Linked DNA regions of Homo sapiens: all the other regions are linked to region 4. Evidence: promoter capture Hi-C in 16 types of primary human blood cells and fetal thymus (Javierre and others, 2016). All regions are on one chromosome and are shown on one strand. Each heading gives the region's core, a stretch centred on a gene start or on the middle of the fragment in contact. The rest is flanking DNA. Distances are from core to core; before and after follow the strand shown. Region 1 overlaps BRD1 (bromodomain containing 1). Region 2 has its middle 75 kb from the start of BRD1. Region 3 overlaps BRD1 (bromodomain containing 1). Region 4 holds the start of MLC1 (modulator of VRAC current 1). Region 5 overlaps BRD1 (bromodomain containing 1). Region 6 overlaps PPP6R2 (protein phosphatase 6 regulatory subunit 2).

Region 1 (4,089 bases), core at 879-3,378, 310 kb before region 4:
CGCCATTAGCTGGGCTTCTCGGTGGTAGCCCTGAGTGCTCCACGGCCTGTCCCCACCTGGCTCCTGCACCCGCTTCCTTTCTGCGTGGGCTTCCTTTCTGCGTGGGCGGTGAGTGATCCTGGGGGCCACCAGCTGCTCGTGGTGGGGAGGGGCCTGCCGGGCGGGGCTGGCTGTGGGAAGGAGAGCCACGACAGATAGGAAGCACCTGCCAGATGCAGGACAGCAACTATCTAAGGAAGACTTGATTTCCAAGTTTCTATGGAGATGTTACAAACGGTGTAGGCTTAAAAAAAGCATTTAAAACTTTTATGTAACTGAAGTTTTAAAATAAAAATATGATCAGGTGAAATAACAAATAATGCCATCCCATGACAGTTTTCAAGATAAAGGCGTGTCCCCGCCCCCTGCAGCCAGCACCCCACCCGTCCTTGGGGCTCACCTAGCCGTCTAGGGCTGTAGGAATAAAATGGCCACACCGTCCAAATCTTGACTTTATTTTTAATATAAAAAATGCAAATTTGGAAACCCACCCTACTTTCCCCAACATAATGCTTTACCTCTTAAAAATAAAAATAAAGTACTAATTCTATATACATCACAGGTACCATACAAAAATGTATCCAAAGTTTCTATTGCTACCAAAGTGTTCTAAATTAAAACAAGTTACAGAAAGCCCCTCATTGTAAACAAAAGATTACAAGTTATAAAATCAAAGTACACACAGGCCAGAGTCATTTATACAATGCAATGCATTCTGCTCCCAAGCCAAGTTGAATTTTTATGTGCCTGTATAAAAATGCATATCAATATACCTTTGCAAATGTATTTTTCATTATAAAGCAAATGAATACACTTTCTACAATAAATAATCCGCTGGGAGGCACACCTGCGGGGTTTGAGGTGGGCGGGACGACGGGAGCGGGGACACACCCACCGGCGGTCACGGGCAGCGGAGTGTTTTTGGTGATCTGCAAGTGATGTACACAGCATAACTTTATTCTCCCCTCTTTCCACAAAGTACCATTCAAAATAATGTCATTTTCTTTCTTAAAATACACATTTGTCATTGTAAATTTACATCCCGTCTTATTAAATAAGTGGTACTCTGTGTAAAGAGCATGATTTACAAAATTATTAAACATTCAAAAGTCTTTAAGAAAAAGCTACATATCAAAGAAAGTGACGCCAGCAGCACGGCCTGGGGACGTGCGACAGACGCACTGGGCTGCCCGGACGTGCCCACCCCACTCACAGCGCCCAGACGGAGATGGGTTCCTAGAAAACTTGGAAATAAAACCTCCCCCCTCCCCGGGGAAAAAGAATTAAAGAGCTATAACTAAAAATCAGAATAAGTTAAGTTTTGAACAATATACAAACATGTACAGCTTATCAACACTATGGACAAGACCCGCGCTGGCGGCCGGGCCGTCAGTCAATGTCACTGAGGTCGCTGGTCGGCTCCCCGTGGACGCGGCTCAGGTGGTTCATGGCGCGGTCAAAAGCGATCCGCACGGCCTTCCGGATGCTGGAATTCCTCCCTTCCATCATCTTTAACTTGTCTATAGTTTCGTCAATACCAAGGGGAACCATTTTGGACTTAGGAAGCCACTGCCTTTTTAAAAGGAAAAACAAGCGGAAAATCATTGCTTGCACATGGTATTTCAGCAGGCTCCATGTAATCATCTAACAAATTCACTGCCCTCCGATAGAAAGGGGCCCTGCTCAGCACCACCAAGACAGCTGGGCCCCGTGCAGGGACAGGCCCGAGGCCAGGAGTGCACCCCTCCCTTCCCCTCCCCGACTTGGGGATACGGGGAGCTAAGTAAGGCATAAAAACCATCACCTCCTCCTCCACCTCCAAAACGTTTCCCAGTGCCTGCTTAGTGACAAGACATGCACACACCAAGCCCAGAGTCAGGGTGGGCCCTGGAGCAGAGGCCGGTGGTTGGGGAGACCCCATCAAAGGGGCCCTCGGATGGACAAGGTGTGGGCCTCGCTCAAGGCCTGACAAGAAGCAGTGGCCACGTGGCCAAAGAGGCAGAGGTCGAGGCAAGGAAGAGAAAGACGGTAGGGATGCCTGTGCTGCCAGTCCTGCTCCAGGCACACCATAGGCAGGTGGCCCCGAGCCCCTGCGCCAGGTCCCAAGTGCAGCCAGCTCCACGGGGAACCAGGAAGCACCTGCCCGGGCCACGTGCGCAGGGCACAGCCGGGGCCACAGCTCCTCCCAGAGGCATGTGCTGCCAGCGTGTCCTGCACAGAGGGATCTTGGGGTCTAAACCCTGGCACATGAGGGTCCCAGACGCTCTGGGGAAAAGCAGCTCAGGGCACAGGGGGAGCCTCCTGTGATGGGGTGGATGTCTGAGCAGAGCTGGATGATGCTGGGACAGAAGGCTCTAAGAACAGGGCCAGAGGCCAGGCCCGGGCAGGGGCCATGTCCTGCAGTACAGGGGTCCGGGAGCACAGCAGAGGGACCCCCAACACTGGAGCGGACACATGGGTAAGGAGTAGGGAAGAGACAGTCCAGACCAATGGGGCTCAGGCGAGAGGGAGAGGAAGCCATCGGGCAGAGACAGACCCGGTGCTCAGTGCCCGTCCCACAGTCCCGGCGAGGGGGCTGGGCAGTGCCCTTCTCCACCAGGCAAACAGCGGAGCACTCACCTCCGACTTTAGCTGTGCCAGGGCCCAGCAGACAAAGACGCTGCTCACCACAGGGACACTCAGGTCACCGAGCCCACGGCCCCCAACCACCCCAGCCGGTCCCCGGAGTCTAAGGCCTCTCAACTCACCAACTTCTCTTATTATCAAAAAAGAGAACGAGGAACAGCTTCTCATCAGACTTGGTCTGCATGTGCTCCCCAATCTTCAGCACGTCCAGGGGTGGGGCCGGGATGGTGACGCCGTTGTGGTGGCCAGGCACACGGGGCATCTTGGGGTCGATGATCTGCACGAGAAGGACCCGCTGAGGTCATTGTGAGGCTCACACCCATAAACAACCCCACCTGTCACTGGCACCCCCCCCCGCCTCCCCACCCCAGCTGTGTGAGCCTCCTCAGACCACCCCCACGCCCCCCTCGCCGAACCACCCCTGCCCCTTCCAGCTGTGTGAACCTCCTCTGACCAACCCCGCCCCCCCGCCAGCTGTGGAACCTCCTTGGACCACCGCCGTGAGCCTCCTCGGACCACCCCCGCCCCGCAGCTGTGTGAGCCTCCTCTGGACCCGCAGGCGCCACGAGAGCCGTACTCACCAGTGCCGGGTAGGAGGGGTAGCCGCTGCACTTGGCCCACACCACCTTCAGAGGCTCCAGCACCGAGGCGGCGGCATCAGTGGAGATCCACATGCTGCTCTGGCCGACTTCTGCGGAGAGGGGCGTCAGCAGGACACAGGCGTCAGCAGGACACGGGGCACGCCCCGCCCCCCCACAAAAGGTGCAGCAACAGGGTGGGTCCCCCGAGCACAGCCCAGCTCCCAGGCCTTTCTCAGCCACCCCGGCAGCACCACTGCCTCCCCTGTGGGGTCCAGGCCCTTGCATCCCCACTGTCCCTGCAGCCCACCTGGGGCCACCAGCCTCCCACGGACCCAGGGAAGCTCCTGCCCTCCAGGCTACAAGGCTCCAACTCCAGGTGCCCAGCACAGTCCCTTCTGAGCCCTCCTTGCCGCAAGGACGGGGCTCCCAGCATGCTCCTGCCTCATTTACACAACTGACACCCCAAATGGGAAACCAAAGTCCTGGCTCCCCCTCCGCCAGACCAGCTCCCTGCTGTCCCTCCCACCTGGGGGATCTCCGTCCTGATGCCCCCTCACAGCATGGCTGCCTTCCACAGTGAGGGCTGTGCGACCCCAAACCCTGGGGCCTCCCCCTCCCCCAGGGGCCTGAAGTTGAGGGCACCCACCCTGCAGTCAGTCCCCTGTGCAGCTGCAAATGACCACTGAACCTAAACAACCCCAGACAGCCTTGACAGTGCCTGGCAACCAGCAGCCACACAGAGCTGGACGTTCCACAGGGAAACGAAGGCAGGATGGAGGAGGCGCCACCTCCGCAGGCACCCCGGCAGGGCCACAGCCCAGAGCCCCTCGGTGTGTGATGAACC
Region 2 (4,515 bases), core at 99-2,598, 330 kb before region 4:
CCACCCCATGGCGGCCTTCTGGGGACTCCCGTTGGGATCGTGGGGGCAGCACCAGTATGGGGCAGGGGACAGAGCCGATTCCCTGCGCAGGTGTGGTTTGGTCCGCGAGGGCTACGGGGTCCTGGGGGAACGGTGGGCGGCAACCAGGAGAGCCCGGCAGGGACCCCCCCCATGCCAGGCCCAGTGCGGCCAGGAGGACCCAAGAGGGGTGAATGAATGAATGAACGAATGAATGAATGAGGGAAGGAAGGGGAGGGGAGGGGAGGCCAGGCCCTGAGGGCAGGGCAGGTCCCACCCCTGTCTCAGGCCCCCCATGAGGCAGATGGGCCCACCCTGCAGGAGCCCCTCATTCACTGCCCTGGGAGATTCCCAGCCATGTCCTGCCCTGCGGGGCCTCGGGGTCCAGGGAAGAAGTGGCCCCCTCCGGCCCCTCACAGAGGCGCCCGCTGCACCTGAGGGTCCTCGACCCCACCCCGCCATCCCCCGGACCCCCGCCCTGGGCTCCAGCTTCCTCCCCACCAGCCCCACCAGCCCCGGGAAAGGCCACGCTGTCTCCTGCCTCCCCGCGGAGGTCTCATGAGCCGCCGCGCCCCGGGCTGCGAAGAAACACCCCAGTCCCCTCCCCCGCGACCCTCCCTGCCTCCTGGGTACCCTGCAGACCCCACACGGGACCCCCAGGCAGGTGTGACCTCGAAGAGAAGCCACATTTCACCACCTCCTCAGAGACTCAGATGAAGGTCCACACACTAAATGCAGATCTGGAGGAGGCGGAGCAGGGTCACTTCTGACTTTTTTTGTTTTTGTTTTTGTTTGAGATGGAATCTCGCTCTGTCGCCCAGGCTGGAGTGCGATCTCGCAGTGGTGCAATCTCGGCTCACTGCAAGCTCTGCCTCCCGGGTTCACGCCATTCTCCTGCCTCAGCCTCCCAAGTAGCTGGGACTACAGGCGACCACCACCAGGCCCGGCTAATTTTGTTTTTGTATTTTCAGTAGAGACGGGGTTTCACTGTGTTAGCCAGGATGGTATCAATCTCCTGACCTTGTGATCCGCCCACCTCGGCCTCCCAAAGCTCTGGGATCACAGGTGTGAGCCACCGTGCCCGGCCCAGACTTTTCTTTTCTGTGAATGCTACATGTTTTGGCATCTAGCCTGACAGGTAGAATTTACTTGCAAGGACCTCACATTGATCATCAGTCAAGGATCAGGGCTCCAGAAGTAAATCATACAGAAAGTGATCACACCGTGTCTCAGGCCACACATGGCCCGTGCGTGCCAGTCCCAGGCCACACATGGCCCGTGCACTCCAGGCCCAGGCCAAGCCTGCGGCCGAGTGGGCAGGTGACCCTGGGAGGAGCAGAGGAGACGGGAAGGCAGGTGCCCCTCAGCTCCCTCCAGCGCCCACCTGGCTGTGGTTTCTCAGCGGGAACAAGAAGAATGAAGACCAAACCCTGAGGGGAAGATGTTTCCCAGCCTCTGGGCCAGAAAAGCTGCTCCAGGGAGGAGAGGGGTTGCACATGGTGCCCCACGTCCCCTGTCAGAGGCCGCTGGCAGGACCACATCCCAGAGCCCCCCCAGAACCCGGGAGGCGCAGGCCTGGAGCCCAGCCAGGCACACACCAGGGCTACTCTGACCCTGGAAAGAGGTTAGAAACAGCCGCTGTCTGGATTCTCAATGACAAAGGGATGGATGTTGAGGAAGACAGAGGGGGAGTGGGTGTGGGAAGGAGGACACTGAACAGAAAGGGCCTGGATGCCCACGATAACAAAAGCAAAAGCTGAGGAAACTTCACAGGGGGCAGGGTTGGAAAGAGGAGGGGTGGGGTTCAGGCTAGACAGAGGAGGGGTGTGGTTTAGGCTGGACAGAGGAGGGGGTGGGGTTCAGCCTGGACAGAGGAGGGGTGTGGTTCAGACTGGACAGAGGAGGGGGTGGGGTTCGGGCTTGTTCTGCAAACCCAGCGTGGGTACCTCGGCCTTTCTTATCCCCAGCATGCACTTGGAGCCTGTGCCCCTCACCTGTCGGCGCTCCCAGCTCGGGGGTTTGTGCCCCTTCCTGGTCCCCTCCCCTTGGGTGTTGCCGGGACCTGTTTCTTGCTCCTAAGCCACATCATAGGATCAAAGCGATAGAGTGTCCGTGGCTAAGTGTGTGTGCACGACCACACCACGCACGATTGTGACCCTGCCTTGCTGGAGCCGCTGTCTCCTTTGCTGCGGGAACACAGCAGCCGTGCTGGGCAACACCACGTACCTGGGACCTTCGGTGGCCTCTAGCACCAGAGTGCAGCCTCTGGACAAAAGCCAGTGAGAAAATGAAGCCGTCAGTCCTACAGTTGGAAGGACGGATGGTTGCCAGCACCCTGAGTGAGCGTGGAGGTGAACTCTGCCCCAGCTCAGCCTCCAGCCCAGCCGCCACCTGATGGCAGCCTGTGGGCCCAGCAGAGGACCCCACGAAGTGGCGCCAGACCGCTGGCCACAGAGACTGAGATGACAGATGTGTGTCGTTTTGAGCTGCAAGATTTGTGGTGACCTTGTTACACAAGGACAGACGCTAACACAACGGGTTCCCACAGCAGGTCTCCAGGGCTCAGGGAGTTCTAATCACGAGACCTCGGGGGGGGTCTTTCGGCTGAGTGCAGAGAATAACGCGGCTGAAGGTCACGGCCAGACGCCTGAGGACCAGCCACTGACACCCTCAGCATCGAGAGCTGCTGCCGAACTGTGGCCAGGCCCTTTCCTCTTTTTTTTTTTTTTTTTTTTTGAGACAGAGTCTTGCTCTGCCGCCCAGGCCCAGGCTGGAGAACAGTGGCGTAATCTCAGCTCACTGCAACCTCCATCTCCCTGGTTCAAGCGATTCTCGTACCTTAGCCTCCCAGTAGCTGGGATTACAGACATGCGTCAGCACACCCAGCTAATTTTTGTATCTTTAGTAGAGGTGGGTTTTCACCATGTCGGCCAGGCTAATCTCGAACTCCTGGCCTCAAGTGATCCACCTGCCTCAGCCTCCCAAAGTGCTGGGATGACAGGTGTGAGCCACCGCGCCCGGCCAGCCAAGCCCATTTCTAAGAACGTCCATGGGAAGGAAGGAGGGATGTAGCCAGGGCCAGGACCACCCCAAGAGCAGAGTGATGGGTGCGGGTGGGGAGCAGAGCTGGAAGGGGCCCAGGGGCCGTGGTTCGTGGACCTCAGGCCCAGGCCAGCCCCCGAACGCTGCAGCTCCTGGCTCTCCAAGCAGCTTCCTAGGGACCATCAGTAAAACTGTGACAGCAAACCCACAGTAATGTGATTTAATTAAGAGATAACGACAGTGGAACTGGGAATTGTGCCGGGTAACGGGTCGTCATCGCCTCGGGAGCAACAACTCGGAACTCAGGATATTAATGCATCACCGTGGCACTGTTTGGGGAGAATTGCCGTGTTTTTCAAATGCCTTCAAACTTCTATTTTCCTTCCACAGTCTCTGAGTTTGCCCCAGCCCCCCACTGATTAGTTCCAGCTACATCTGCCTTTTCTCATTAAAAGAAAAGCTTGTGCATTTTATTTTCAATTAACTTGCAGGAATCTATCAGGAGAAAGTCCAGCTGAACCTCATCATTCACAGTGCAATTTCTCAGAACCGCCAGGGACGGCAGGTGTGATCCAGGGTGGGGCTGGCCTCCCACCTGCTGGGGCACGTGCACTCCAAGGGCTCTCTCGGGCCAGGGCCGCTGCGCTCAGCCTCCTGCACAGACGCACCTGCTGGGGCACGTGCACCCCAAGGGCTCTCTCGGGCCAGGGCCGCTGCGCTCAGCCTCCTCCACAAAGCAGGGAGTGTGGGGAGAGGCCTCATCACACTTCCCACCTGGCAGCAGGTGCCTGGACACCTGAATCTCCTCCACTCTGCCCTCCAGTCTTGTCCCCTTGAAGACACATGGGGCAGGGCCAGACGGCTAATGCGTTAGGATATGGGTTCTGGCCTCTGGCAGCTCTCAGAGCCTGCCTGGCGCTCCCTTGGTGAGAATCTGACCTCTGGGCACCTCTTGACTCCCCTGGCAAGACAGAGTGGCCTGAGGGAGCCATTGGTCCCAGGGGACACTCGCCAGGACCCTCCCGCAGGCTGTGGATGTGTGTGGCCTGTCCTTGGCTTCCCTGGACCAGACCTGCCCATGGGCCTCTGGTGTACGTGGGTTCAGTGCATGGCTCCTGGGAGAAGAGTGGCTGTTTAGCCACTGAAACATCACCTTCCTCACAGCTCTTTCCTCTTATAAGTTTGTGCCTTTCTCCAGGCCCCAGCTGTGCCCAGTGGCAGGGATGAGATGAGATGTTCTGAAGTACTCGTCAAAGGCCCGGAGAAGCATCGCATGGGACAGGAGGGGAAGGACTCCTGGGGGCACGTCCTGGGCCTCTGCCCGGAGACCCAGTGTCTTCCTGCCAGCATCTGCTGCCAGGCAGCAGCACCTCCTCCAACACCTCATGCCAAGCATTTAGTGTTTTGTTTGGGAAGTCGCCGGGCACAGCCTGTCTTGCAGGACGCAGGAGAGGA
Region 3 (3,991 bases), core at 1,149-3,648, 270 kb before region 4:
CGTAAAAAGGTGTAGCCGCTGTGGAAAACAGTGTTGTGGCTCCTCAAACACTTAAAGACAGAAATGCCGTGTGACCTGGCAATCCCACTTCCGGGTATACACCCAAAAGAACTGAAAACAGGCTCAGATACTTATCACCCATGTTCTTCACAGCATTATTCACGATGGCTAAAACATGGAAGCAACCCAAGAGCCCATGGAGGAAGGAATGGGTAAGCAAAAGCTTATCTCCACATACAGAGGGTTATTCAGCCTTAAAAGGCAAGGAAGTTCCAATGCATGCAATGACATGGAAAAGCCTTGAAAATGTGCTCAGTGCAATAAGCCAGACACAAAAAGACAAATACTGCCTGATTGCGCTTATGTGAGGGACTGAAGAGGAGTCAAATTCATGGAGACAGGGAGTAGAACGGTGAACGCCCGCAGCCAGGGAGGGAGGAATGGGGAGTTCCTGTTTAACTGGGACAGAGTTTCAGACTGGGAAGACAAAAAGGCTCTGAAGATAGATGGTGGTGATGGCTGCACAGCAACAGCAATATCAAAGTGCTTCATGCCCCTGAGCTATACACTTACAATGATTAAGATGGTACATTTTATGTTATGTGTACGTGACCACAGTAAAATACTGAAAAAACTTGAATACAGAGAGTTAAATGGAATGTGCACCTTCCAAATGAGTAGAGGAGGAAAAATGCCCCCGACTCCAAAACAGCAAAACCATCTGAGTCAATACATCAGAAGAAAAAGTGAGCCGGGCGCAGTGGCTTCCGCCTGTAATCCCAGCACTTTTGGAAGCCGAGGCAGGCAGATCATGAGGTCAGGAGTTCAAGACCAGCCTGGCCAACATGGTGAAACCCCATCTCTACTAAAAATACAAAAAAATTAGCCAGGCATGATGGCACACGCCCGTAATCCTAGCTATTCAGGAGACTGAGGCAGGAGAACTGCTTGAACCCGGGAGGAAGACATTACAGTGAGCCGAGATCACACCACTGCACTCCAGCCTGGGCAACATAGCAAGACTCAGTCTCAGAGGAAAAATAAAGAAAAAGGGAAAAAAAGGATCATGGAAACAAATCCAAAATAGATCAGTAATCCAACATAAGTCAACAGTCTAAAGTTGCTAATGAAGAGGTTGTCAATCTGGTTAAAAATTTAAAATTCCAGTTTTAGGCCAGGTGCAGTGGCTCACGCCTGTAATCCCAGCACTTTGGGAGGCCGAAGCAGGTGGATCATGAGGTCAGGAGTTCAAGACCAGCCTAGCCAAGATGGTGAAACCTCGTCTCTACTAAAAATACAAAAATTAGCCAGGCGTGGTGACAGGTGCCTGTAATCCCAGCTACTTGGAAGGCTTGAGGCAGGAGAATCGCTTGAACACGGGAGGCGGAGGTTGTAGTGAGCCGAGATCGCGCCACTGCACTCCAGCCTGGGTGACGGAATGAGACTTCGTCTCCAAAAAAAATATATATATATATATATATGTAATTCCAGTTTTAAAATACCACAGCAAGGCTGAAGCTGGACATAAGGAAAATGTTCAGGTGTACATTAAGGAGCAGAAAGTGGGTACTGCTGACCGATCAGCTGAACTGAGGCCAGAGAAACACCATGACTGGAGTGAAGAGGGCTATGAGGGCTACTGGACCATGATCGAAGGAAGTGACCAAATTCCAAATGCGTACACACTGCCTAACGGGACATCTTGAAAATATCAAATGCAAAACCTCCAGGAGCTACAATGAGAACTGTTAAACCTACAAGCCTAATGAAACCAATTCACGCAAAAATAAATTAAGGATATTAAAAATGTAAGCATGACTTATACATTTGACCCAACAAGCTCATAGAGAATATTGCATCAAAGAAAGAAAGAACACACATATTCACAAGCACAGATGGACTATTTATAAAAAATGTATAACCTATTGGGCCATAAAGTCTCAACAAGCATCAAAGAATGAATGCGTACCATGCAGGTCACGTCCTTTGCCCACAGCACAAGCAATGGATATCAAGAGTTTAAAAAATTAATTTGGTTAAAAAAGAAAGAAAGAGAAAGAAAGAAAGCGAGCGAGCAAGCAAGCAAGCCCCACATGCTTCTAGACTGCTATCAGGTAAAGGTAGAAATTATCATATATAGGAAAACAGTGGCCAGACGCGGTGACTCACACTTGTAATCCCAGCACTTTGGGATGCCAAGGCGAGAAAATTGCTTGAGCCCAGGAGTTTCAGAACAGCCTGGGCAACACAGTGAGACCCCAGCTCTTAAAATATATATATATGTGCACATATAAAAATAAATAAAACTCCTATTAAAAGACCCTTGGTTAGGCAAAGGCTTCTTACATGTGACACCAAAAGCACAAGCAACCGAAGAGAAAGCAGATAAACTGGACTCCATCCAACTTGTAAATGTTTGTGCTTCAAAGAACACTGAATAAAACAATAAGATGACCCACAGAATGAAGAGAAAGTATTTGCAAGTCATGTATCTAATAGGGAGTCTAGTACCCAGAACAGAGAACTCTTATGACAACAGTAAGAAGTCAGCTAACCAATGAAAACATGGCAAAGATCTGAACAGACATTTCTCCAAAGAAAATATGCAAATGGCCAGGCAACATCTTCAGCCACTGTGGAACTGCAAAGCAAAACCCCCGAGCGATCGCTGCCCCTGCACCATGGAATGGGTATCATCAAAAGGACAGCGCCTGAGAATATACAGGGGTACAGCTGCCTTGGAAAACAATCTGGCACTTCCTCAAAATACTAAACAGCATTACCACATGACCCAGCAACTCCACTCCTAGAATATACCCAAGAGAAATAAAAACACACTACCTAAAAACTGTTACACAAATGTTCAGAGCAGCATTGTTCATAATAGCTCCAAAGTAGGAAAAAAACAAACATCCATCAAAAGATGAACAGATTTTTTTAAACGTGGCCTATCCATACAATGAACATTACGCAGCCGTGAAAAGGAATGGCACACCGACCCAGGGGGCACGATGGATGGACCTTGGAAACATGCTCAGTGAAAGAACAAAAAAAACACATTTCATAAAAGAACAAAAAAACACATTTCTATGAAATGCCCACAACAGGCAAATACACGGAGACAGGATGCAGATGGGTGGCTGCCAGGGCTGGGGGAGGATGAGAAGGTGGGAAGTTGGGGTAATGGCTAAGAGGCACAGGGTTTCCTTTGGAGGTGATAAAAATTTCTAAAATTGGTGGTGGTGATAAATGCACAACTCTGTGAACTAAAATCCACTCAACTGTACACTTCACATGGGTAAATTTCATGGTGTGTGAATGACAAGAGTCCCCCCTTAACCAAGGGGGATGGTTCCAAGACCTCCAGCGGCTGCCTGAAACTTGGAACAGGACCGAGCGCCAGCCTGGATGTTGGTACCTGCTACTAAGCGGGTTAAGGTGCAGGCAGCTGCACGGCGTGGGTGCACTGGACAAAGGTTAGATTCACGCTCCCGGCAGGCAGGACACGACAGGGAGACTGTGATCACGCTGCTCAGAATGGTGCACAACTGAAAACTTATGAACTGCTTACTGCTGGAATTTCCCATTTAATACTTTCAGACTATGGCTGACCATGGGCAACTGACACCATGGAAAGCAAAACCACAGGTAAGGGGAGGGTACTAAGTGTCTCAGTGAAGCTGACAAAATTCCCCCACGGGCGGCAGAACAGGGATGGAATGGGACACACCGCACAGGCGAATTCAGCCGGCGGTGCTGAGTCTCCCAATTCCTAGGCTATGGGTGGGTTTGTGGGCATTGCTATTTACATTTATGGTCCACACATGATTTGGCATGTATCAAACATCATCAGTTTTTAAAATATACTAAGATCTATAGTATTAACATATCAAAAATTCCTCTCAAAAACAGAAAAATCACACAAAATTTAAAAATACGTTAAGATTAAACAGTATTTGAGAGGCAGAAATAAAAGAACATGGATAAAATC
Region 4 (4,476 bases), core at 298-2,797:
CACCAGGTGGAGGAGGGCAGAGCCCGGAGATGGCCACCACCACCCGGGAGCCGCCTCTGTCCCCAGCTCCGAGGCAGACGCCTGTCTTGGTGGGGCATGCTCAGGCCACGGGAGGTGGGCAGGACCACTGTGGGTGCTGCAGGGGCTGCCGGCGGAGGCCAGGGCACAGGGAGGGGAGAAATCACAGCCTGGATCTCATTCTCAGCCCAAGCTACACGGAACCGGGGGTCCCTGCATAGAGGCCTGTCCTGCAGCATGGCTCTGAGCAGCTGCACACACTCAGGCCCAAGTGGCTCCTCCAATCATCTCTGTGCCCACGACTGTGCAGGGAATGGCCAGGACCCCAGGGAAATCCCTCGGACATCTGGCGCTGCCCGTCCACCCCAGACCTGTTCCTTTGTTCCCCAGCTCCCTCCCAGCCGGCCCCTGAGGCCCTCCCTAGGAGGAGGAGGTCCCTGAGGTTCTCTCTGTGAGGGCCGACCTGAAGGCCTGAGACGCCTCCTCCCACCTTTGCAGGTGACCCCTCAGAGGACCCTGGGCCCCCAGAGCCGAGGGTCATGGAGACTCCTGGGGCCCATTCATGGCCCTGGGACTGTCCCTACCCTGGTGGGACTAAGCCACAACCTGGAGCAGCTCAAGGCTGGCACAACAGACACCCATAAATTAATAAAAATAATTGTGAAAACACAAGCAAAACAAGCTCGTCGGCATCCAAGAGTTCTGCAGCAGCAGGGTTAGTCTGAGAGTTGCTCTCTCTGTCCCACCTGGGGCTCCAGGGCGCTGCAGTCCGTCACCAGAGGGACCAGATGCTCGTGGCCCTCCAAGGGCTTAGTGTGGAGCTACTCACCCCCATCAGCACAGAGAAGACCCACGTCTTGTGGCTGAAGCAGGGGGGCAGTCTCTTCGACAGCTGCAGGTCGCTCGGCTTCGCGTCTGGGGCATAGCTGGCGGGGTCTTGCCGGCCCCGCTCCAGCGTGGGCATCCGGTCATAGGCCAGCTCCTCTCTGAATGGCTCCTGGGTCATGGCACTTGGGGACACCACAGCTGTGCTGAATGTACAGCCACGTGTCACCAGTTCTTTATCTGGAATAAAATTATCATCGGCTTTGGCCACTCTGAGGAAACTTCAATAAGTTGTTTCCAAGAAATATTTTTTAACAAAAGAAATATTGTTCATACTGAAGTGCTCTAAATTTGAAGAAGAAAATGAGCACTTGAATCTAAAAGTGAAAAAGAAATAACTTTCCTAGAAAAACGGACCTGAATAGTCTGGGTTCAGGGTGAGATTCTACACTTTAAATGCCTCATTGATCCATCTGGGCCCTCCAGGTGCAACACCTGACAACATCCATCGGCAACTTCGTCCATGAACACATCACGCCGGGGACTCAAGCACGTTAAACTGCTCCAATTGGTAGCTAAACGAGAGATTGCAAAACATGCCTCTACTCAACGGCTTAATGTCTGAGCACTTACCTCCCCCGCTGCTCTGCCGTTGGGAGCACTGGTCTCTGGGTGAGGGACTTCCAGCAAGAAGTATTCACAAATGAAACAAAAGCTCAGCAAACTTGAGCTGAAGGCAGGGGAAGGAGAGCTGCTTCCTGAATATCAATGAGGGGAGGAATCGGGTGGATCGTAGAAATGTTTCGTGTTGGTTGTGTAAACCACTGCCTCGGAGCTGTCAGAACCCAACTAGGAAAGGAAGGGGCCCTGCCTGTGCCACTCGCCACAGAGCTCGGGTCTCTCAGAAGAAAGAAGCGTCCCTAAGAATAGAATCCCACCAAGTACACATTCTGAGCAGGCTCTGTTTCTGAAACGTAACTGTTTACTCGAAGGTCTTCTACATCTTTCCAAGTAGCCTTTTTCCATCCCCCACAGCCACACGGTGGGAACCTCCTTCACACGGTCACATAAGCATTCACGCACTCGGCTTAGCTGTGTGGCCTTGGGCGGCTCCGGATTCGGCCCTGTGGTTTGCGTGGGCAGCCCGGATGGCTGGTGGGCCCGGTCCTGCTGCCCCCTTTATCTCTGCTCACCAAGCAGAGAAAAACCACAGTAATGTGTGTCGCCCAGAGACACTGGCACCCTGACAACTACAGCAACGGGTTCTTTGTGCACATTGTAAAAAGGCTCAAACTAAAGTTTCTGAAAAACCAGCTCCTTAAACCATGAACCCACATTAAAACTTGAGCAAAGTCATCAGGTTCCAGACCATGGGATGTTCTGTTGTCTTCGTTTCAATCAAGCAAGAAGCTTTTAGTAAGCTTTTATTAGCTTTTAGTAAGTTTTTATTAGCTTTTAGTAAGATTACACATACAAGCATCCCTGTCCCAGTGAAAATGCCCACTAAATCACCTCGATCAAAATGCGTAAGTGTCAAGTACGCATAAATGCAGCTCAAAACACTTTGCTCAACCTCACCCCCACAGGAAACAGCAGTGATAAATTTTTAGCAATAAACGAAAGTTTAAGCTATACTAGTATTTTAGGGTTAGTTAATTTTGTGCCAGCCACCACAGCCAATGTTCTGTTGTCTTCATTTCAATCAAGCAAGGATGAGAAATAATTTTCAAAAACTATAATCTGTGAAGTCAAGAACTCATTTTAATGGATTGAGAAACCTCCCAAACTTCACTATCTTTTAAAGCGATAAACGGGATTAGTGGGAGTGGGTCCAACTGGATCGAATCCTCCTGTGTTTCTTTTTGTTTGGAAAAAAATGTTAATCGGATTTCAACATTTTTTTCTTTCAAAAGTTGCTCTCCACTTAGAAATACAAACAAGCTGCCCTGAACCAGAGGTTGCAGAGCAAATCCCTCAGCTTCCCAGATCATAAGTCATCACTTGAGAAATGCTCCCAAGTTTCTGTTGGCAACACTAGTTTCTAGAACAGGCCCTGTTCTTTCATACAATCTTCCAACAAATTCTTGCTCCTAAAATGCCCTTCATCCCTCTGCCTGCTGATGTCCCATCATCATTCAACATTCAACAAACATTTATGGGGTGGACAAAGAAGTGACGTCCTTCCTATAGGCTGTTTACATTCATTGGGGGCACAGGAGTGCACAGGATAAACAAATTAGTGTGTTATACAGTGATATGGTTTGGCTGTGTCCCCACTCAAATCTCATCTTGAATTGTAATTCCCATAATTCCTACATGTCGTGGAAGGGGCCCGGTGGGAGGTAATTGAATCATGGGGGTGGTTACCCCCATGCTGCTGTTCTCCTGACAATGAGTGAGGTCTTATGAGATCTGATGGTCTTTTATAAGGGGCTTTCCCCGCTTTTGCTCAAGACTTCTCCTTCCTGCCACCTTGTGAAGAAGGACATGTTTGCTTCCCCTTCCACCATGATTGTAAGTTTCCTGAGGCCTCCTCAGCCCTGTGGAACTGTGAGTCAATTAAAGCTCTTTCCTTTATAAGGACTTGACTCTAAAATTACCCAGTCTTGGGTATGTCCTTATAGCAGCGTGAGAACAGACTAATGCATCCAGTGACACACATGATTTCCTCTATGAGGGAAAAGAAGTCAGGGGAGAGAAATGAGGGGCTGCTGTTTGCAGGGGCCAGGGCAGGCCTCAGTGAGAAGGAGGCAGGGAGGGGAGGCTGGCAGAGTTGAAGCAAAGGCCACAGGTTGGGGAAGGCAGGCGAGGACCATGCAAGGGGGATACAGGTAGGACAGCCAGGTGCCAGCACCTGTGGGTATGGAGACGACTCTGCTTCAACTCTGAGACAGACCTGCTGGAGGGGTCTGGGCAGAGCAGCATCCGGTCACTCACTGGGTGGAGAGCAGGCTGGGGGGTGGGAGGAGCAGGTGCTGCCTGGCATTGAGGTGGCAGTGGGCAAGTGGTGAGGAGGGACTGGGCTCTGAACAGGGTTTGAAGAGCGGACGCAATCTGCTGTCAGGGCGACGTTGCTGAGTTCTGTCTGAGCAGTGAGGACAGAGATGAGAAGACCAGGGTGGAGCAGGTGTGGAGCGAGGATCTGGAGTTCCATTCTGGACATGATGAGGCCGAGATGTCTGTGGGCATCTGCCGGGTCTACTGAGTCCAGAATCCCAGGGAGTGGCCCGAGCTGGGGAGCTGAGGGGCAGCCCTGCAGGCACAGCACCCGCTGCGAGCTGCCCTGGCAGGGAGCCCATGAGCCACCAGCCCTCATGCAGCTCGCTCTTGTTTCCAAGCTAATCTCCCACCAACCAGTAGGTCCCTGGGACCCTGCTGGCTCCTGTATGTGTTCCAGCACCCAGCCCAAGACACAGGCTTAGCGGGGATTTGAAATGCTAGGGAGTGCGCCACTCTCTCCCTTCCCACAGCAAGAACTATCAGTACACTCTGCATCCATGGACAGGCAAGGTCCAGGCTGTCATCAGACTGACAGATCTGACCTAGGAAAATAAAGCTATGTCAATCAAAAATAAGTCGGGGCTGGGCGCAGTGGCTCACACCTGTAATCCCAGCACTCGGGAGGCCAAGGCG
Region 5 (4,306 bases), core at 429-2,928, 290 kb before region 4:
TCCAAACCAGCTACTCTAAGAAACTAAAACCTAGTTAAGTCTGCAAGAACAATTCCGCAATATTTTGCCCACCTGGCCACCTGCTATGTCAATCAAAGGTTTCTGTATCGAAGCCACAAGACGCTTTGGAAAATCACAGCGTAACACAGGCAGACATTTCAGCTCACGAGCAGCAACCACACTGTCCCTCCAACAACCCTGCCTCAAGCCTCCGTCCTCTGCAATCCTGAAGGGACAAAGCTGCGTACTCCGCACCTTCTACCCCGAGGAACATGCATCCTTCCTTTCCTGAGGGCCACAGTTCTCCACGTGCTCAGCGCCCGTGCACGGCAGGGGGACTTCCACACGTGCACTTCAAGGGACCACAGCTGCCCTGGACTAAAGGGGACGCCCCGGAGCCTCTGGCAAGGGCATCACTGTGACTGGAAATCCCAAGGACTCGAAATGCAAGCCCCTTTCACCAGCTCACGGTGCGGACCCTGCTCCTCCTGACTGCACTGACCTGCCTCACCATGTCAGCAGACACCAACCTCAGCACAGGGTGGAGACAAGCCCTCTGCCAGCTGCAGATCCGTCCCACAGGCTCATCAGACAGGCTGGAATCCCAGCTGTGGCGTGGCCCCCACCCAGCTGACACGCAGCCCCGGGGAAGTCAGCCCTGGCAGGGCCAGCTCACAGCAACAGCCCGAACCTCTGCACTCGGCAGACTGAGTCGCGGCTACGGCAGAGCCTGCGGGAGGGCCTGTACAAGGGGCAGACCGGGGCCAACAGTGCAGCCCAGGAGGCATCTCCTTCCTTCAGACACTAAAGTCTCAGGGGCCTGGCACTCAACGGCTACAGCCTTGTTCAAGCTGCTTCAAGTGGAAGCAAAATATAAACACAACACACAGACTGTTAAATTACAGTTTAAGTGAGACTGTGTATTTGCCATTGAGGAATTACTCTTTTCAGGTGTGAAAATATTGTGGTTATATTTAAGAAAAATGATGGAGAGGCTTTACTGATGAGAACGTTCATGCTGGGTTTTTAAATGTCTGATTCTTGGTTTTCATCCTATTATAAGTATCGTAAGTCACATTTCTATACCAACCAACAAGCTTGCTTGTGGCTGTCTTCCCTAATGACTTCCCCATTCCAGTCTGGCACTCGCCTCTCCACAGACCCCCATCTTCTCTGAGGGGCAGGACCCCGCCCGCCCCACCTCTCCAGAGACCCCCAACTTCTCTGAGGGGCAGGACCCCACCCGCCTCACCTCGGAGTGGACTTTCAGGCCACTTGCTTCTCCACCCACCTTCCCATCAGCTCACAGGAAACGCCCTTTTCATCAATTGAGTCATTGTGAACATTGGGTGTAACAGGTGATTCGAGGCCACCTGTGTCTCAGTCACATTGTGTTTTCCTTACAATGGCCCCAGAAAAAAAATAAAAATAAAATGATTCCAGAGCTACAAAGCAACAAAAATGGTCTCCAAAGGCTCCTGCTAAGCGTTGGGTGTTATGAGGAGCCACGCTCACCACAGCGGAGGGCCAAGCAGCTCCAACCATGCGAGGTCCTCAACCATGCGAGGTCCTCAGTCCTGTGACCCAATAACCGTGCGGGGTCCTCAGCCCTGTGACCCAATGGCAATGGAGGAAGCCACTGATAAAAAAAAAAAGCTAAAAAGGTAACTTACTGCTCTACAGTGAAAATGGTACAACTGTGTGCGAAGAGAAGCGCTGGAAGCTATTTTGAGAATGGTGAGTGGACCTGCTGGCAACCTCCTCACAGCTCAGTCCTCAGGGCACAGAAGACAAGGACAGAAGGGCAGTCCACCTAGAGGGAGGCCCACACAGCCAGAGGATGCCTCGGTGGGCTGCACGGAAGCAAAGGCTGCGGGACCAGGCACCAGCCTGGACTCCTGGGCACAATGGGGCGGCCCAGGGCCCGGACAGGTATGGCTGCCAGAGGGTCCTGTAGGCAAACGTTCCTCAGAAAAAACACGAGGCCCCCAAAGCAGAGGAGGGATCACGTGCCAACAATAACAGCCTTTGGGAGAAGAGAAAACCAAGCGCTCACCTTGAAATAGAAAAGCCTTTATTCTATGGACCTAACGTAATTGACGCCAGCCCCAAAAGAGACATTCTAGAGTCTGGGTACTATACTATGGTGAACTAAACAGAAGAATCCCAGAACAGAACAACAAACAGGCACAAAATGAGCAAAAGGATGCATAAGAAATTCTCAGCTGTGTGCACAGGAGTAAGTTTCTAAGAGAAAGAAAAGCTTAATGGCTCTCATTCAAGTTGCCCAAATGTAAAACAGGATAAAAGGGGCGAAGCTCTGCAGACAGGAGCCACAAGAAGTTCAGGGGATGAAAAGGGCCCTGAGACCATGGGGACCCGCTGACCTGTGTGGCATCATGAAGACACTGCGTCACTCCGAGCACAGACGTCCATAAGAGATGAACGTCTTTGTTTTAAAAGAAAATTGTACAACAATTCTGTGTCTTATTTCAACTGTCTGCTGTTCTGACTTGGATGTGCAGGGGAAGGGCAAGAAGGCTGAGAACCAGCTGCCAATGTTGTGGCAAGAGGGTCTGACCCTACTGTCTGCTTCGTGTAACCGGAGCGTGTCAAGGTCAACTGCAGAGACACACGGCAAAACACAGTGGCAATGACTTTCTATCAACGTCTCCAAATCCGATTTAGTTTTAAAATTCCTCTTTCACCAAATATGGGACACACCAGCTCTACTTCCTCACCCTGCCAACCTAGATGTACACAGACCATCGCTCGTAAACTCCCTCCTCACCATGCCAAGCCTGCATTTGCCCTGGGTTTTGCTAGTTCTCCTTCTAGATAGGCGGATTTCTTCTCCTACATTTATTTCTTAGTCATAAAAACATCTTTGCTGCCTGGACCTTTCCCCAGACATTCTTTGGCAACGATCACGGCTGCTACCTACCAACTCTGCAGAGGAGCTGGCCGGGGACCCTCGGGGCAGACAAGGCCTCTGCAGGTACCGTCCCTCCCTTCACAACATCAGGGAGGAGTGTTTAAGTGCCAATAATCTAAAACAGCCCTTTCAAAATGCTGCATTTGATGGCCTAGCGCACAATTAAATGGCTCCCCGCCAATTTACAAAATGCAACAAAAACATTTCTCACTCTCATCATTCAGGCTACCTTTACTCTTCAACACAGTGTAAGATCTAAACCATTCTTTTCAAATAGTTTCTCAGGCCCAAGTTAAAGAGAAAAATTTTATTCTGTGCCTTAAATTTTATCAACTGATTATGTGAGAAAACACAGACAGCACAAATGATAACGTCTCCTTAAAAGGAAACAACAGCCCAGTGGGAAAATCAAGTGTTCCGGGATTTGTGAATTTTACGGAACTGGCGCTAACCTGAGCCTCCGTGCACACCAACGCTGCTGCCCGTGTCTGGGTCTGTGCCTGTGCCTGTGCCTGAGCCTGAGCCGTGACGGCAAGAAAGCGGGGCAGCCCTCACCGTGGCTTACCTTCCTCGCCCGCCTCCGGCCCCAGCGCAGCTCCGTCCTCTTCGAAGCCTTCCAAGCCTGGCCCCGTGGGCAGGGGCTGGCTGTGCTGCTGGCTCAGCTTGTTTCGGAGAAGGGCAATTTCCTTTTTGAGCAGCTTTGCCCGCTTGCTCCGGGAGCCGCTGGACTTCATAGCGCAGGTGAGGTCGAGCATGTCCAGCAGCTCTCTCAGCTGCTCCTCCAGGCCCAGGTGGGCTCTGTTGGCGGGGTCCAGCAACCTGTCCACTGAACCAAAGGACACATGCTGTCAGTCATCAGGTCCCACGCACCTTCTGGGAACACATCACCGGTCCCGTCTTTCAAATCACCTTCGGCCAAGGCCCTGAGAGTGGCTGTTAGCAACGAGGCCCAGGCCCTGCTCACCAGAGGCCCCTCCCCTGCACTCTGAACCCACGAGTAGCTGCTGCTACAGGAACACACTGGGATGCTCCTGATGGAGAATTTCTACTCCCATGACACTGTCAGCACAGAAGGGGCAGCGTCCAGGTAAGATCGCAACCTCTCCTGGACCAGGACCCACTGAGGCTGCCTGTGCAGACAGCCTGGCTGCCTGGGTGAGGGCACAGCACACAGACCCCAGAGAGAGGCGCACGCTCCACCAACCCAGCACAACTCAGCTGGACCTGCGCTGGCTCTGCAAACAGAGGTGACGACTGGCAAATGTGTTAAGTTAGGGCCATTGCACGTCCTAAGTGGTGTCTTAGCTGAAGTCTTCAGATGCTGATCATTGTGTGGCTTTAGTAAACGGGTTGTAAAATTCACAGATCATT
Region 6 (4,418 bases), core at 474-2,973, 270 kb after region 4:
GGAAGAGGAAGGGGGTGAATTTTTTTTGTTATACTAGTTGCTTATTTTCTCTTTCTCTTTCATCTCTTTCCCTCCCTCTCTCCATCCCTCTTCTTTCTTTTCTTTTCTTTTTCTTTTTTCTCTCTCTTTCCCTACCTCCCTTCCTTCCTTTCCCCTTTTCCTCCCTGTCTCTCTCTCTCTCTTTCTTTTTTGATGAGGTCTCACTCTGTCACCCAGGCTGGAGTACAGTAAATGTGATCATAGCTCACTGCAGCTTCAAACTCCTAGGATCAAGCAGTCTTCCCACCTCAGCCTCCCTGGCTAATTTTTTTTTTTCTTTTTTTGAGATGGAGTCTTGCACTGTCACCCAGGTTGGAGTGCAGTGGCATGATCTCCACTGCAACCTCCACCTCCTGGGTTCAAGTGATTCTCCTGCCTCGGCCTCCCGAGTAGCTGGGGTTACAGACACCTGCCTCCAAGCCCAGCTAATTTTTTTGTATTTTTAGTAGAGACAGGGTTTCACTATGTTGGCCAGGGTGGTCTTTAACTCCTGACCTCGTGATTCGTCCTCCTTGGCCTTCCAAAGTGCCGGGATTACAGGTGTGAGCCACCGCACCTGGCACCTGGCCCCTGGCTAATTTTTTAAATTTTTTAAATTTTAATTTCTTGAGACACGGTCTCGCTTTGTTGCCTAGGCTGGAGTGCAGTGGCGTGATCGTGGCTCACTGCGGCTTTGACCTTCGGAAGCAATCCTCCCACCTCAGCCTCCCAAGTAGCTAGGACCATAGGCACAAGCCACCACACCTGGATAATTTAAAAAAAAAAAAATTCTTGGTAGAGATGGGGGTCTCTCTGCGTAGCCCAGGGTGTTCTTTAACTCCTGACCTCAAGTGATCCTCCACCTTTAGCCTCCTGAGTCGCTCAGATTACAGGTGTGAACCAGTGTACCCAGCTCCTGTTTGTTTATTTTGTTTTGTTGTTTCTTATTTGTTAATGGTATCTTTTGATGAACAGAACATTTTAATTTGGATATAGTAAAAATTTACCAATTTTTTCTGTTATGATTATTTTGTGTCTTAAGAAAATTTTGCCTGCACCAGGTTGTGTAGATGCTGCCCTGTGTTTTTTGTAGAAGCTTTACAGTGGTAGCTTTTGTATTTAGGTCTGTCATCCATCTTTTTCTTTTTAACAGCTTTATTGAGATAAAATTAATATGATAAACTATACATGCTTAAAGTATAAAATTTGATAAGTTTTGACATATGTATACATTTGTGAAATTGTCACTATAGTCAGGATAGTAAACATATTCATTGTCCCCAGAATTTCCTCATGCGCCATTGGGATTCTTTCCTTCCACTCTATCCTTTCCCTCCTTCTCTAAGCAACTGCTGATCTCTTTTCTGTATGATCCATCTTGCTTTAATTTTTGTGTGTGATGTGAGGTGGGGTCAGGATGCATTTTTCTCCATATGGATATGCAATTATTCTGCCATCATTTGTTGAAAGGACTCTCTTCTCCATTCAATTCCATTGGAACCTTTGTTATAAATTAATTAAACATGTCTGCAGGCTTATTTCTGTTTTTTCTGTTCCATTGGTTTATTTTCTATCCTGTGTTAACACCGCGATGTCTTGATTATTGTAACTTAATGGTATATCCTGAAACCAAGTAGTGTAAAAGAACCGCCCCCCCCCCCCCCCCAACTCTTTTTTTGAGACGGAGTCTCACCCTATTGCCAGGCTGGAGTTCAGTGGCGCGATCTCCACTCACTGCAACCTCCACCTCCTGGGTTTGAGTGATTTTCCTGCCTCAGCCTCCCGAGTAGCTGGGATTATGGGCACCAGCCACCACGCCCAGCTAATGTTTGTATTGTTAGTAGAGACACGGTTTCATCCTGTTGGCCAGGCTGGTCTTTTTTTTTTTTTTTTTTTGAAACTGAGTCTTGCTCTGTCGCCCAGGCTGGAGTGCAGTGGCGTGATCTCCGCTCACTGCAAGCTCTGCCTCCCGGCTTCATGCCATTCTCCTGCCTCAGCCTCCCGAGCAGCTGGGACTACAGGCGCCCACCACCGCACCCGGCTAATTTTTTGTATTTTTAGTAGAGATGGGGTTTGCCGTGTTAGCCAGGATGGTCTCGATCTCCTGACCTTGTGATCTGCCCGCCTCGGCCTCCCAAAGTGCTGGGATTACAGGCATGAGCCACCATGCCCGGCCTGTGGAGTGTTTTTTTTTATGATGAAAAAGGTTTATATTTTGTCAGATGCTTTTTCTGTGTATGTTGAGATGATCACTTGTGTTTTGTCCTTTATCCACATGTGATATGTTAAATTAATTGATTTTCGGGTGTTAAAGCAAGCTTGCATTCTTGGGATTAAATCCCCTGTGGTATGGTGTAGAATCCTTTTTATATGTGGTTGGATTTGGTTTGGTAGTGTTTTGTTGAGGCTTTTTACATCTACCTTCTTAAGAAATATTTGTGTGTGACTTTCTTTTCTTTTGATGTCTTTGGTTTTGGTATCAAGGTAATACTGGGACCCATAGAATGAGTTGGGAAATTCTTCATTTCTTTTACAGATCAGATTTCTATCCGGGATTATTTTCCTTCAGGATTTCTTGTAATGTGGGTATGATAAGGACAAATTCCCTCAGCTTTTGTTTGTCTTAAAATGTCTTTATTTATATTTTTGTTTTCAAAGGATATTTTTGCTTGATACAGAATTCTAGGTTAACAGCTTTTTTTTTCCCTTTCAGCACTTTTTTTTTTTTTTGAGATGGACTCTTGCTCTGTCATGGAGGCTGGAATGCAATGGCACAATGTCGGCTCACTGCAACCTCCATCTCCTGGGTTCAAGCGATTCTCCTGCCTCAGCCTCCCAAGTAGCTGGGACTACAGGTGCGTGCCACCACGCCTGGCTGATTTTTGTATTTTTAGTAGAGATGGGGCTTCACCGTGTTGGCCAGGATGGTCTTGATCTCTTGACCTCATGATCTGCCTGCCTTGGCCTCCCAAAGTGCTGGGATTATAGGCGTGAGCCACCATGCTCAGCCTTTTTTTTTTTTTTTTTTAAGAGAGACAGGGTCTCCTCTGCTGCCCACTTGGAAGTGCAAGTGGTATGAACACATGATCATGACTCACTGCAGTCTTGAACTCTCAGGCATAAGAGACCCTCCTGCCTCAGTTTCCTGAGTTGCTAGGACTGCAAGTACATGCCACCACACCTGGCTAATTTAAAAAAAGGTTTTTAGAGATGGGGTCTCTCTGTGTTGCTCAGGCTGGTCTTGAACTCCTGGCTTCAAGCAATCCTCCTGCCTGGACCTCCCAAAGCATGGGGATTATAGGTGTGAGGCACCATTCCTGGCCCAGGAGATCTGTATTTTTATCCCTGTTTACCGAGGAGCCACAGAGAAGCTGGCAGTTAGCTACACTGTCAGAGCTCACAGATAGGACACCTATTGGGTGTGAGCCAGGGAGCTGACCTGTGCTTCTGCCCACTGTTGCTGCTCACACCAGTCTCTCTCAGGTTTGGCACTGTGTAGAGTCTGTCAGTATCTGTTTTCTCTGCTAGACGTCAGGTTCCTTGGGGCATGACTAGGTTTGTCCCATTATTAGCTACATTTGTTGCTGAATGAACTGACTGATGCCCAGTGTCCTCTCTCTGGGCTACTGTGGACAGTCAGACCTTTAGGAGCTCTTCAAGAATTTGACTGTCACTCATCATCCTGTTGACTGCTCCACTTTGAAGACTTGACTTCTCTCTCCTCATGATCCCACCATCTCTAAGCCTGTGGAACTCTGCTCTGACCCTTTCTCAGCTCTTTGCTGTGATGCCCTTCCTGGACTAGTTCGGTCCTGGGTAGTGCCTTCCTGTCATCACCCTCAATCTTGGTCATTCCTTTTGGATTTCCTTTGATAACTCCTTTTTTTCTTCATTGACTCAGTCAGAATCTGGTTATCATATGGAGACTGAGAACATGGGCTTTGCTCTCAGCCAAACCTGGGTTCAAGTTCTAGAACGGATACTTACTAGCCCATGACGTTGCGCTAGTCATGTAATTACTGAGACCTCTGCTTTTTACTTGTGAACTGGGGGTTGGTAGGAAACTACCTGCTGCATTAGGCTTTGAGCTTTGAGTGTACGGATGAAGCCAGCTACTGCCACTCTCCTGTGGCTGCTGGAACCCTAAAGGCAGTTTGTTGGCTCTTACTTCTTCTGTGCGTCTTGTTTGGACTTGAGCTTTGTTCACTGCCCCAGTTTCCTCCCTGCTGCTTTTTGGTGCTGTTTTCTGCTTGTTTGACAATGCTTTTTATCTAGCTTGCCTTCAGCTATTTTTCCTTCAACAGTCTCAGCCCAGAGTATGCCCTGCTTGTCTTCCTTTGACCCAGGACCCAGAGTATGCCCTGCTCGTCTGCCTTTGACTCTTTGTTCTGGTACTTGTT

The links. Contacts are between HindIII fragments. The CHiCAGO score rates a contact against its expected background, and 5 or more counts as called.
Region 1: a contact is called between a fragment that was not itself captured here and the fragment with the promoter of MLC1 in region 4, in 4 of 17 cell types (total B cells, erythroblasts, activated CD4 T cells and 1 more). The highest score is 6.0, in total B cells.
Region 2: a contact is called between a fragment that was not itself captured here and the fragment with the promoter of MLC1 in region 4, in 11 of 17 cell types (neutrophils, M0 macrophages, activated CD4 T cells and 8 more). The highest score is 9.1, in neutrophils.
Region 3: a fragment that was not itself captured here is called in contact with the fragment with the promoter of MLC1 in region 4 in 4 of 17 cell types (erythroblasts, megakaryocytes, neutrophils and 1 more); the score reaches 12.0 in erythroblasts.
Region 5: a contact is called between a fragment that was not itself captured here and the fragment with the promoter of MLC1 in region 4, in 4 of 17 cell types (erythroblasts, megakaryocytes, total B cells and 1 more). The highest score is 6.4, in erythroblasts.
Region 6: a fragment that was not itself captured here is called in contact with the fragment with the promoter of MLC1 in region 4 in 1 of 17 cell types (neutrophils); the score reaches 5.3 in neutrophils.

Annotation. Positions count from the first base shown.
Region 1 is chr22:49,772,805-49,776,893 of GRCh38, forward strand. BRD1 (bromodomain containing 1) reads right to left here. Exons shown (of 13, transcript NM_001304808.3): 11 at 3,246-3,355; 12 at 2,787-2,941; 13 at 479-1,612. The coding sequence ends at 1,429. Among named protein-coding and RNA genes, the nearest start is that of BRD1, 53 kb to the right of the region's middle. The HindIII fragment of the contact is 4,454 bases long and covers 1-4,089 here.
Region 2 is chr22:49,750,359-49,754,873 of GRCh38, forward strand. No RefSeq gene overlaps it. Among named protein-coding and RNA genes, the nearest start is that of BRD1, 75 kb to the right of the region's middle. The HindIII fragment of the contact is 4,339 bases long and covers 1-3,518 here.
Region 3 is chr22:49,808,088-49,812,078 of GRCh38, forward strand. The region is part of intron 2 of BRD1 (bromodomain containing 1); the gene reads right to left. Among named protein-coding and RNA genes, the nearest start is that of BRD1, 18 kb to the right of the region's middle. The HindIII fragment of the contact is 4,355 bases long and covers 222-3,991 here.
Region 4 is chr22:50,083,879-50,088,354 of GRCh38, forward strand. It overlaps MLC1 (modulator of VRAC current 1), which reads right to left and starts at 1,548. Exons shown (of 12, transcript NM_015166.4): 1 at 1,477-1,548; 2 at 848-1,083. The coding sequence starts at 1,024. RefSeq lists an enhancer at 1,196-1,820. The HindIII fragment of the contact is 3,674 bases long and covers 1-2,251 here.
Region 5 is chr22:49,790,534-49,794,839 of GRCh38, forward strand. BRD1 (bromodomain containing 1) reads right to left here. Exons shown (of 13, transcript NM_001304808.3): 7 at 3,501-3,761. Among named protein-coding and RNA genes, the nearest start is that of BRD1, 35 kb to the right of the region's middle. The HindIII fragment of the contact is 1,166 bases long and covers 1,096-2,261 here.
Region 6 is chr22:50,357,323-50,361,740 of GRCh38, forward strand. All of the region lies in intron 1 of PPP6R2 (protein phosphatase 6 regulatory subunit 2), which reads left to right. Among named protein-coding and RNA genes, the nearest start is that of PPP6R2, 16 kb to the left of the region's middle. RefSeq lists an enhancer at 4,132-4,181. The HindIII fragment of the contact is 1,222 bases long and covers 1,113-2,334 here.